Linked DNA regions of Homo sapiens: all the other regions are linked to region 3. Evidence: promoter capture Hi-C in 16 types of primary human blood cells and fetal thymus (Javierre and others, 2016). All regions are on one chromosome and are shown on one strand. The core of a region is centred on a gene start or on the middle of the fragment in contact, and the rest is flanking DNA. Distances in the headings are between cores, read along the strand shown. Region 1 overlaps IKZF3 (IKAROS family zinc finger 3). Region 2 overlaps CASC3 (CASC3 exon junction complex subunit). Region 3 holds the start of PSMD3 (proteasome 26S subunit, non-ATPase 3).

Region 1 (4,589 bases), core at 629-3,128, 200 kb after region 3:
GCTTTGGCTGAGTGCAGTGGCTCATGCCTGTAATCCCAACACTTTGGGAGGCTGAAGTGGGAGGACTGCCTGAGGCCAAGAGTTGGAGACCAGACTGAGCAATATATTGAGACTAATAATTTTTTTTTTTAATTAGCCAGGCATGGTGGCTTTAGACTGTAGTCCCAGCAACTTTGGAACCTGAGGTAGAAGGATTACTTGAGCCCAGGAGGTTGAGCCTGCAGTGAGCTGTGATCATGCCACTGCACTCCACCCTGGGTAACAGAGTTGAGACCCTGTTTCAAAAATAAGTAAATAAATTAACTAAATAATGAAAACTGAGCTTTATAATGTATTGTGTAATGACTAACATACAGTTTTTTAAGGCCACTAATAAAATTAGAAATATTTAATACTTTGGGGCTTTTTTTTTTTTTTTTAGACAGAGTCTCACTCTGTCACGCAGGCTGGAGTGCACTGGCACTAATAGGTTGGTGCAAAAGTAATTGTGGTCTTTGCAGTTACCTTAATAGTTCACCGTAACCTCAAACCCCTGGGCTCAAGGAACCCTCCCACCTCAGTCTCCCAAGTAGCTAGGACTACAGGCGCATGCCAACATGCCCAGCTAATTTTTTAAAATTACTTTTTGTAGGAACAGGATCTTGCTATATTGCCCAGGTTGGTCTCAACTCCTGGCCTCAAGCAATCTTCCTGCCTCAGTCTCCCAAAGCACTGGGATTACAGGGGTGAGCCACTGTGCCAGCCACTACTTGCTTTTTACTCTAATCCCTTAAACTAATTTCAATTTATTCTTCCTTAGACATAATAGAAATGTATGGATAGTTCATTTTAGTTTGGATCTCCCGAAGTGTTTATGAGAAAACAGAGAAAAATGTTTACAGCATCACAATATGTTTGCCCAGGGCAGGTGAGGGCAAACTGTGGCGCTCTAGGCAAGTGCAGCCAGTGGCCTGTTTGTGTACAGGGATTTTTACGTTTTTAAAAGGCCGTGGAACAGAAAAAAAAAAAACAAAAAACAAAGAATATAACATAGAGACTATATGTGTCTGGCAAATTTTTAAAATTTACTGTCTGGCCCTTTACAGACAAAAGTTTGCTGATCCCTGGTTCAGGCTAGCATCATGTGTTAAAATGTCAAGCCTTGTATTTAGAGAAGCTGGTATCTCTTTGAAATTTATTTAATTAATTTATTTATTTTTTGGAGATGGAGTTTTGCTCTTATTGCCCAGGCTGGAGTGCAATGGCTCAATCTCGGCTCACCACAACCTCTGCCTCCTGGGTTCAAGCGATTCTCCGGCCTCAGCCTCCCGAGAGCTAAGATTACAGGCATTCGCCACCACACCCAGCTAATTATTTATATTTTTAGTAGAGATGGGGTTTCTCCATGTTGGTCAGGCTGGTCTTGAACTCCCGACCTCAGGTGATCTGCCCGCCTCGGCCTTGCAAAGTGCTGGGATTATAGACGTGAGCCACCGTGCCTGGCCTTCTTTGAACTTTAGACATAAATTTGGGCACTGCCTGCTGAATTGAGGTAAATTATATTCATTACAGTTTACTATTTTAGTTGATTAGATATTGCCACTATTTATATACTCTTCTAGTAGTTCTCAATTCTGGCTGCATTTTAAAATCATCTGGGGAGCTTTGAAAATATTCTTGCCTAGGCCCCTATACCAGAAATCCTGATTTAATTGATCTGAAGGGGGGCCTGGGCATAGGTATTTCTTACCTGCTATTCAGGTGAGTCTAATGTGCAGCCAGGTCTGAGAACCACAGGCCTACACCACTCACAGGTCTATTTGTGGATGGGCCCACATTCATAGGCAGGTTTTTTTGTGTTTTGTTTGTTTCTTTGTTTTTTGAGACGGAATTTTGCCCTTGTTGCCCAGGCAGGAGTGCAATGGCGCCATCTCGGCTCACTGCAACCTCTGCCTCCCAGGTTCAAGTGATTCTCCTGCCTCAGCCTCCCGAGTAGCTGGGATTACAGGCATGCACCATCACACCAGGCTAATTTTGTATTTTTAGTAGAGACAGGGTTTCTCCAAGTTGGTCAGGCTGGTCTCGAACTCCGACCTCAGGTGATCTGCCCACCTCCACCTCCCAAAGTGCTGGGATTACAGGCATGAGCCACCGCACCCAGCCCATAGGCAGTTTTTATTCACATTTTTATTAGAAATTCAATACAGATGCATTATACAAATTGTTCTTTAATTTCAAGGCAGAAGTGTTGCTTAGGGAAATTTTAATTGAGACTATTTTGAAATGTGAAGAGCATATGAAACAGATAATACAGAGCACAGAGAAACAGAATATGAAAGATAGGAACTGAGAGGAGCGTGCTGAAAAAAAAAAAGAAAAAGAAAAAGAAAGAAACCACTCAGAATTTCAATACACAAATCACTGAGTAGATGTCTTGCTATCTGTGTGAGTGTACCTATTTTCAAAAGTGCTGTTAACATAAACAGAGCAGTAAATCTGGGGCACCATGCTTTTTTTTCAAAGTTGTTAAGAATTATATCAGTCTGCAGGTGTCACACGCAGTTACTCAGAATCAGAAAGAAGGCTGATCGGGGGTTAGATCTCCATCTATCTATCTTTTTGCAACCAACCACGTCCAGGCTGTTTATTTAATACTTCCTCTTGCTAATGAAGGTACTGGTTGGGGATGGGTCGAGCTTTCCCATCTCGGCATAAGACTGCAAGATTTGAATGTGCCCTGGTGTCGGCTTCACTGACCACAGCAGGTACCCCAGGCAAGAATCTGAGCAGTTATAACAGGTAACAACAATAGAGTGTGCATCCAACTTCGGACACTTCTCCTTCCAGTTTATTTCCTTTTCTCCCCATGTACCAATGTGTTCTTTTCTCTCTTCTTTTTACATTTTTCCAAACTAGCAAGTGCGGAGGCAAGACACATCAAAGCAGAGATGGGAAGTGAAAGAGCTCTCGTACTGGACAGATTAGCAAGCAATGTGGCAAAACGAAAAAGCTCAATGCCTCAGAAATTCATTGGTAAGAATACAAACCTTTTTCCTGCTGTTGTTAGCAGATAGTTTGAATGAAATAACATAGGATGCTTGCTACACAAGGCCTTTCCTAGCTTAACCTCTGTTAAAATAATTAGTTTTTCATTGTGTACTTTTATTCTTCATGGTTCATTCTGATAGCTCTGGAAAATAGAATAAAAGATATTAACTAAAGCATCATCATGACAGGAGATGGGAGTAGTTGATATCCAATTTCCTAAATGGATGTGATGTTTAAAATCCTGTTCCTTCCTCTTTACTCTGAATGACATATGTTGCATGAGAGAGTTTATGCAATTTATACCAGTAAGATGTTCAAGATAGCATTTTTGTAATCTTTTGTAATTATATTTTACAAGTTGGTTCGTTAGCATGCTCAAACTTTTTTCATGCTCTAAAACATATTGCCATATTTTCTTGAATTTGAGAATTGGCTTTAAGGGAAAGTGGTTGGGCAAACATAGATTTAAATAACAAGGTTTGATTTAATCATTTGTCTTACTGGAGTTCATTTTTATGCCATTGGTTTTCACATTGTCAAAAAATACAGCAGAATGAGATGGGTATGAAATAATTATGTTCATTGAAGTGTTAGGACTTCCAAATGGCAGAGACATTTTGCTGAACTCTCCCAGATGTTTACATAAATGTGACCATGATATTTGAAATAGATTTGTATTTGTGAAGTAGACAGCTGAAATTGAATGTATCAGTTTTGCTATAAATTGAAAGTTGGTGATATTGAACAAAAATAGTTATCACATGAAAATAGACCTCCCTCAACATCAGTAATATTTTAGAAACCTGTCTCAGCCTCTTTTTCCAAAGCTGCTTGCCGCTGTTGATTTTTTATTTCAGTCCTTTTGTATTTATTCTTCTCAATAGCTCTTACAGATAATAAGTTGCCTGCCTGGTTTTTAAATCTGACTAAATTTGATTCTGGTATAGATAATGTTTTGACAAGCAAACAGTCTATGTGAATTATAGAGGTATATTGAAAGAACCCATATATTTCAAAATTACCTAATTTGGTATTTCTGCCTACTTATTTTATTTTGACTAGCTGAAAGGTTTTTGTGCACTTTTAGTCACTTTAAGAACAAATTGTGTCAGAGAAAAGTTGGTATATTTCAGTTTAGGGAGATCCCCTCCTCCTTGCTGTCCTCCCTCCCCTTGGTGAGACATGTCAGGGGAGCATGTAGTGACTTCCATTTAGAGTTTAGGCACAGTAAACAAATGGTGAGTTTAAGACATTGTCTACAAATATTCCCATATATCTTTTGGGCTTTACTTATGTGAAGAGGTTCTGACTGGAGTACAAAAGAAAGCTTGCCTTATTATTCTGAGTGTATTTTAGTTTGGAGAAAGTTATGGGTTTTGTTTGTTGGTTTGTTTTGAGACGGGGTCTCACTGTACTGCCTAGGCTGGCGTGCTGTGGTGCAATCACAGCCTCAAACACCTGGGCTCAAGAAATCCTCCTACCCCAGCCTCCCAAGTAGCTGGAACTATGGGCACGCACCACCAGGCTCAGCTAATTTTTAAACTTTTTGTAGAGATAGAGTC
Region 2 (3,978 bases), core at 983-3,482, 180 kb before region 3:
GCAAATCGAAGTACCTGGCCTACATGTGTAAAATACATGTTAGACAGCAGCAGCAGCAAGTGGCTTTTACCTGACTTCCTCCTCCTGAGTTTGCCCTCGAAGATCATGCTCAAAGAAGAGCCCTTTCCGAGGTATGTATGCTGGATTCTTCCGATCTTCATCATCATCCAAATGCTTAGGGCCCTTTTTACCCACTTTGTTCTCCACAGGCTCTGTGCTCTCCTAGAGGACAGATAAAGGGATCCTTACTCTTCCAAGCCTCAAGAATCTCTATTCCAGCCTCTAAAATGGAGGACTGTGGAATGTACTAACCTGTCCGTCCCCACTTTGCCTCTCTCCAGTCACAGTGCTTTTGGTGTCAGGCTTTTCTTCTCCCTTCTCTTCTTTTGTTGAAGAATTAACAGCATCATTAGCTTCTGATTTCAGCTCCACTTTGGAGTTTTCCTCTTCACTGTATTCACCTTCTTCACCCTGAAAAAAGTTTCCCTGTCAGCGATGCATATAAGATCTGAACGGTGCATTTTAATTCCCACCCCTGCCCCCAACCCCAAAACAAAGTCTCTGTCACCCAGGCTGGAATACAGTGGCACAATCTCAGCTCACTGTAACCTCTGCCTCCAGGGGTCAAGCAATTCTCCTGCCTCAGCCTCCTAAATAGCTGGGATTATAGGCGCCCACTACCGCGCCTGGCTAATTTTTGTATGTTTAGTAGAGACCAGGTTTCACCATGTTGGCCAGGCTGGTCTTGAACTCCTGATTTCGTGATCTGCCTGCCTTGGCCGCCCAAAGTGCTGGGTTTATAGGCGTGAGCCACCGTGCCTGGCTGCATTTCAATTTTCTACTCTTTAGGAATACATTTATCAATAAATTTTTAGTACAACATAGAACTGAAAAGCAAACAAATCAATATTCTTACCCATATTTCTAGAAAATAAAGATCCTATTTTGGCCTGGCACAGTGGCTCACGCCTGTAATCACATTTTGGGAGGCCAATGCAGGCAGATCACCTGCGGTCAGGAGTGTGAGACCAACCTGGCCAGCATGGCAAAACCCCATCTCTACTAGAAATATAAGAATTAGCCGCACTTGGTGGTAGGCACCTGTAATCCCAGCTGCTCGGGAGGCTGAGGCAGGAAAATCGTTTGAACCAGGGAGGCAGAGCTTGCAGTGAGCAGAGACTGCGCCACTGCACTTCAGCCTGGGCGACAGAGCAAGGCTCTGTCGCAAAAAATAGTAATAATAAAAAAAAGACACTATTTTAAAAATATCACATTAAAAAAAATACACACATACATACATATATATCCACATAGGTATTCCTGGAACATATGCAAGAATTATTAAAAGTGGCAGGCTGGGCGCAGTGGCTTACACCTGTAATCCCAGCACTTTGGGAGGCCGAGGCAGGCGTATCACTTGAGGTCAGGAGTTCGAGACCAGCCTGGCCAACATGGTGAAACTCTGTCTCTACTAAAAATACAAAAATTAGCCGGGAGGCGGAGGTTGCAGTGAGCCAAGTTTGTGCCACTGCACTCCAGCCTGGGTGACAAAAGCAAAACTCCATCTCGAAAAAGCAAAACAAAAAAACAAAAAAACAGCGGCAGCCTCTAATGGGCCCAGAGGATAAGAATGGAAGGGAGACTTACTATACGATACCTAACATATAAGAGGAGCTTAATCTTCCTTGATAATCTCTCTCTCCATGAATTATCTTTTTTTTTTTTTCTGTTTTGAGACAGGGTCTTGCTCTGTTGCCCAGGAGTGCAGTGGCACAATCATGGCTTACTGCAATCTCAATCTCCTGGGCTCAAGTGATCCTCCCACCTCAGCCTCCCAAGTAGCTGCGACTACAGGCACATGCCACCACACCTGGCTGATTTTTTTTTATTTTTAGTAGAGACGAGGTCTCGCTATGTTGCCTAGGCAGTTCTCAAACTGCTGAGCTCAAGCAATCCTCCTCCCTTGGCCTCCCAAAGGGCTGGGATTACAGGCATGAACACTGTACCTGGCCCATGAATTGTCTCTTAAACATGCAGTGCCTAATAACTATACTTTGACGTAAGTTGTGAACTCTCCCATCTCAAAATGGCTTAGAGCAGAAATTCCCAACCTTTTTGATTATGCGGACCCCTTTTTAGGATCTAAAAATTTTCATGGATCCCCATGAGATATTCACTGAGAAAACATACAATGACAAACAACTGCTAGGCTGGATGTAGTGGTTCACGCCTGTAATCCCAACACTCTGGGAGGCCGAGGTAGGTGGATCACTTGAGGTCCGGAGTTTGAGACCAGCCTGGCCAACATGGTGAAACCCTGTCTCTACTAAAAATACAAAAATCAGCCAGACATGGTGGCATGAATTTGTAATCCCAGCTATTTGGGAGGCTGAGGCAAGAGAATTGCTTAAACCCAGGAGGTGGAGGTTGCAGTGAGCCAAGATTGCACCACTGATACTAGTCTGGGCAAAAGAGTGAGACCCTGTCAAAAAAAAAAAAAAAAAAAAAAAAATTCGCCAGGAATGGTGGTGTGCGCCTATAGTCCCAGCAACTTGGGAGGCTGAGGTGTGAGATCATTTCAGCCCAGGAGGTAGAGGTTGCAGTGAGCCATAATTGTGCCACTGCGCTCCAGTCTTAGCAACAGAGAGAGATCCTGTCTCAAAAAAAAAAAAAAAAAAACACACAATGAACTGATGCGTGCGTGCCTGTAGTCCCAGCTACTCAGGAGGCTGAGGCGGGAGAATCACTTTAACCTGGGAGGCAGAGGTTGCAGTGAACCGAGATCGCACCACTGCACTCCAACCTGGACAACAGAGACTGTCTCAAAAACAAACAAAAAACAACAAACTGTTATACATTCAATAACACTTTAAGTTTACATTTTATTAATTTACATATATTCAAAAATAGTAGTACATAAGGGGGGAGATGTATATTTTAGTCTATAGATAATGAGAACTGAATGAGTAGACATGCAACTCTTTTTTGAGACAGGGTCTCACTCTGTCGCCCAGGCTGGAGTGCAGTGGTGTGATCTCAACTGACTATAGCCTTGACTTCCTGGGCTCAAGTAATCCTCCCACCTCAGCCCCCACAAGTAGCTGGGACTACAGATGTACACCACTATGCCCAACTAATTTTTGTATTTTTTGTAGAGACAGAGTTTCACCACATTACCCAGGCTGGTCTGAAACTTCTGAGCTCAAGCGAACCTCCTGCCTCAGCCTCCCAAAGTGCTAGGATTACAGGCATGAGCCACTGCGCCCAACCAGATGTGCAAACTCTTGATAATGACTCCATGATTTCCCAATGCACTTATCCTCAAGCTGGAAAATGGTAGCTTTTTTTAATGCCTATGAGTACTGGTTTTCTGCAGCAGAAAATTCCTGCAGCCAGAACATATCCAGAATCACATAATTACAAAAATTTGACCTAAAAAACCTTAAAGGACAACTTGTACAACCATCACATTTCAGAAATGAAAAAAATTAGTCCAAGTGCTCTCTCTCTCTTTTTACTATCTTCTTCCCTCTTTTACCACATCAAGATTGGGTAACACTGTTCATGACACAGAAAGTGCTGGGTCTACACACAAAGGATCATTAGGCCATTAGAAAGGGCCAGGAAATGGACGTGTGGCTAGTTCTAGGTAGGAAAAGGCAGCAGCTAAGGCTCATGATAAGGGAACTGGCTTTAGAATAGGGTTACTCTCCTCTCCTTGTCCTCCCCAGATTTGGACCTAAGGAGGCAGAGCTATGGCTAGGGAGGCCTACGAGAACACAGAGAAATGGGTTCAAGGAAAGGTGGTCTAGTCTTCATTGGTGGGTTACATCTGAAACCTGGTAGATGTATGTACACTGGTCTCTCACTCACCTACTGGGTCTGATACTTGAACTGAACCAGACTGCCCTGTCACTCAAGACCCAGGCTGGCCCCAATAATCTGGTCAAAGAGGCTCAACATGAGATTCCTGAATTC
Region 3 (4,017 bases), core at 1,360-3,859:
AAAAATTATATTCCATTAGTATTTGAGTAATTGCAAATGGAAACATTTTTAAACTACCAAATTTGTAACATTAAAAAAATTATAGGTGGGGCACAGTGGCTCACGCCTGTAATCCCAGTACTTTGGGAGGCTGAGGAGGGCGGATCATTAAGGGTAGCAGTTGGAGACCAGCCTGGCCAACATGGTGAAACCCAGTCTCTACTAAAAATAAAAAAATTAGCCGGGCGTGGTGGTGGGTGACCGTAATCCCAGCTACTCGGGAAGCTGAGGCAGGAGAATCGCTTGAACTTGGGAGGCAGAGGTTGCAGTGAGCCGAGATCGCGCCATTGCACTCCAGCCTGGGCAACAGAGCGAGACTCCGTCTCAAAAAAAAAAAAAAATTATAGAGTACAGTGAAAACTACATTTCTCCTGGTATAATGTAAATCAGCACAGTTTTTCTGGACAATAACTATCAAAAACCTTTAAAATGTTCAGCCTTTTAAACTCAGGCATATAGGTTTTGGTGGGAATCTGTACTGAAGAAATAATTAGAAAAGTAGATTTTTTAAGTTGGGCACAAAGATGATTGCTTCAAAGCTATTTATGATAGCAAGAAACTAGAAACAGTTTAAATGCAAAGCAATAAGGGAATGCAATCAATGAGTAGTTTCTTAGGCACTTCTGTATATTCACCGATTAGCACAGGGTATCTGGGCCACACTAATGATATAAATAATAACAGCTGATATTTATGTGCTAGGCACAGTTTTAAGCATTTTAATGTTCACAACAACCCAATAAAGTACTGTACTATTACTTGTATTTATACAGATGAGGGAACTAATTCCAGAACTTGTACTCTTAACCATTATATTGGGTATTCAATAAATGTTTCTGGAATAAATTGAATGCTGATTATGTTTACGAATGTTAATGAAAACACATAAAATTCAAAATTTATATTTAGTTATGCCTTGATACAAACTGTATACATAACTTGCTCTCAATTATAGGAGAACAGCTCAAAAATTCACAAGAAAAAATGTTAACCATGTTTTTTATCCCCTGCTTTTAACTTCTCATACATTCCACAATTTCTGCAATGAATATGAATTACTTTACAAGAAGAAAATGAAGTGCCTGTAATAAACACACCCAGTAGGCAATGCTGAGTGGCACCTTTGACATTGCTGCCACTACTTTAGGTAAAAGGATCTCTATTAAATATCGATCCTGTTGCTCAACTTTACAGTAAGAGCTGATGTAGTCAACACCATCACATCCTCAAAAGCACCACCTAGGAGGATAACTTTGCTTATCTCAATGTTTTTGAGCTAGTTTCTCACGCATTTTAGTGAAAAGAAAACCTAGTAAGTAGTCTGGTCCCACTTGATCCAGAACCAGGAAAATGGCACCAGGATCACAGTGGGAAGCTCTCACTTTGCCCACTTCAAATGGAAACAGGACGCTGTAAGTGGGAAAAGTAAAACATGAACTTGGAGGAACAAGAGGACTACAGACACTCGAAACAGGAACCTCGGAGAAAAGAAATAGGAGACACCGGTATATAGGAGTTTAGGCCAAAGGTTGAGTATTACAAAACCAAACAAAGATGACACCCGAAAAGTTTTAAGTGTGTATGTACTTAAACCCTTTAGAAACAGAGGGGCAGTAAGGACCTGAAGGGAGGAGACAGCAAGGGGACTGTTGGGACACTTCAGTTAGAGAAGTAGGAAACAAGATACTAGGTCGAAATGGTTCATTCGGGGGAGTGTGCTAAAGGCAGCTAGGACAACAAAAATCTGCTGTACAGTTTTAAAACTCAGGAGTCAATATTCTAGGTCATCCTGGCCCTGTTTACACACAGACACAAACACTGGTTTCCAGCGGGAACAATCAGTCATATATTGGAGGCGCTAAAATCAGTCGGGTGGGATATAAACGGAATAGGTCAGAGGGGAGGACTTAAAAGAGGGAGTCCCCAGGCCCACTGGGACCTAGATATAGATGCAACCCCAGATATGGGGATGGAGGGGATGGGAGGGGAGTGGTTCCCAGCCTGGAGAGAAGGTTCAGTCATTGGGCCTGGAGTCGGGAGTGTCGGGGCAGTGGGAGCAGGTATCTGGGGGTGATCCCAAAGAACTGAGGGTGGTGGAGGCTGCTGTGGCTTCCCAGCAAGAAGCCAAATCACAGGGGTCGCTGTCACCCGCGATCGCGGCACGTTCCCGGCCTGGGCTGCCGTACCCTCCAAGGTGACTGTGTCCAGCTCTCGCTGGGAGTGCTCAGCCGCTGCCGCCGCCGTCTTGCCGTCTGCCTCCCCCGTCGACCCGCCACCCGTCGCTGCCTCCTCTTTCATCTCCACATCCTGGGGGGCCGGCGGCGGTGGGGGTTCTTGTTCTCCTCCGCCGGGCGGCGGTTTCGCCTTGTCCGCGCCGCGGCGCCGCGCCGAGCCCTCCTGCTTCATGGCACCCGGGGTCACGGCCTAGTCCGGGGACCGAGGCCGGGGCCTCGCGTTAACCCTCGCACCGGGGACCAGGAGCCGAGCCGGGCCTGCACACGAGCGCGAGATAGCGTCGGGCCGCACGATGACGGAGCAGCTGCAAACCCCTTCCCGGCGCTGGGCCTTCTGGGAAACGCCAGGCCCGGCAGGCCGATGGCCGAGTCAACAAAGGGGAAATAAATCCACAGCCGAGGTGCAGGATGAAGGAGGAGCTTCGAGGAAGGAGCGGGGAGGAGCCTTTATGGGTTCGTGGGGCTTTCTTTCGAGCGCTTAAGTGTGATGCTTTTATGTTCCTCTCGAGTGCATTTCTGTGGGCGTCCACGAGAGGTCCCCTCAGGCTCCAATCTGGGTTACAAAGGACTTTAAGAGCGCCTCAACCAGCGTGGAGTGGGTACAGCCTATCCGAGCGCGGGACGAGATGACGTCACGAGTTGCCGGGCGGGTTTTGCGCCCAAGTTCGCTCAATTTTCCCCGGTCGCGGCGGGGTCTCCTTCCAGATCCGCTGGGCTTGTGCTCAACGGCTGCCGGGCGCATCCGGCAGGAGGGAAGGAAAGAAGGCTGTGAAGGAGGGACGTGAAGCTAGGGCTGTTGGCCTTAAAATAAACCGAACTGGAGAGTAGGAAGAACCCTATGGGATCCGGACTTCCTTGGTTAGATTTGAGTTTAGTGCTGAACATAAGGCATACAATTTCTGCAGGCTGGGAGTGCCGATAGGTAGGAGCGTGCATTTGCGTAGAATCACTCCAGTTTAACAAAATATAGGGGTCCACCCTATGTACGGCCCACGGTTAGCAAATAGGGGGGTGAAAAACAGCTCAAGAATGTAGTATACGGGGGAGTCAGATGGTTAGATAAGCAGACACTGTGCTCTGGGCTGCGGTGGATTGGGAGTGTTGAGGAAAGAGGGTGGGAGCCCCTACTGGCAGACGCTTTAGGGAGCCCATTGAGAGGGCTTTTATACATCCAGACAGACATTGTGAAATGGGGAACAGAATAATGGTGTGCCTAAGGAGAGAATGATGGTTTACTTAGTGGTGTACCTAAGGGGAAGCAAATTGGACAAGAAACCCTACCCACTTATTTTTCAAAGGACTGCCCCACTGGTTCTGCAGGGAAGGTGAAACAAGGTGAAGGATATAGCTCCCAATTTCTTAGAACACACAACAAAAACTCTCTCCCTACCTTGAAACTTTTCTCTCTCCCATAAGTGGAAGTCCTGAGTTTTAGACCTTTCACGGACCCTACAAGACAATCTAGCCCTGTTGTAAGGACCTAGAAGGCAGGAAATATGTTTTGACCTCCTCCTTTGCATATATAAAGGGTATCCTGCATATCTTTTGCATCCTCTTTCATAGGATTGCAGGATGTTCCTTGCGTTAAACAGCCACTCGCTAACTGGAAAGATATGTGCTCTAGTTTTAGGGAACATGCCTTGACCAGTTCCTCCTCAACTGTCCTCTCACCCTCCAGGGCTGGGGGGTGGATAACAGGACTTTTGAATCATCATTGGAATAAACTCATTAGAACCTCTTCATA

What was found. The method cuts DNA at HindIII sites, captures the fragments that hold promoters and counts their contacts. A CHiCAGO score of 5 or more calls a contact.
Region 1: a contact is called between a fragment that was not itself captured here and the fragment with the promoter of PSMD3 in region 3, in 6 of 17 cell types (naive CD4 T cells, total B cells, total CD4 T cells and 3 more). The highest score is 6.4, in naive CD4 T cells.
Region 2: a fragment that was not itself captured here is called in contact with the fragment with the promoter of PSMD3 in region 3 in 1 of 17 cell types (neutrophils); the score reaches 6.1 in neutrophils.

What each region holds. Positions count from the first base shown.
Region 1 is chr17:39,776,074-39,780,662 of GRCh38, reverse strand. IKZF3 (IKAROS family zinc finger 3) reads left to right here. Exons shown (of 8, transcript NM_012481.5): 7 at 2,896-3,012. Among named protein-coding and RNA genes, the nearest start is that of GRB7, 40 kb to the right of the region's middle. RefSeq lists a silencer at 2,049-2,282. The HindIII fragment of the contact is 4,957 bases long and covers 1-4,356 here.
Region 2 is chr17:40,158,246-40,162,223 of GRCh38, reverse strand. CASC3 (CASC3 exon junction complex subunit) reads right to left here. Exons shown (of 14, transcript NM_007359.5): 4 at 313-471; 5 at 71-222. MIR6866 (microRNA 6866) reads right to left here and starts at 291; the gene lies at 223-291. The HindIII fragment of the contact is 7,918 bases long and covers 1-3,978 here.
Region 3 is chr17:39,979,399-39,983,415 of GRCh38, reverse strand. PSMD3 (proteasome 26S subunit, non-ATPase 3) reads right to left here and starts at 2,609. Exons shown (of 12, transcript NM_002809.4): 1 at 2,226-2,609. The coding sequence starts at 2,445. RefSeq lists a silencer at 2,269-2,318 and enhancers at 1,721-2,698, 2,499-2,778, 2,999-3,178, 3,600-4,017. The HindIII fragment of the contact is 5,666 bases long and covers 1-4,017 here.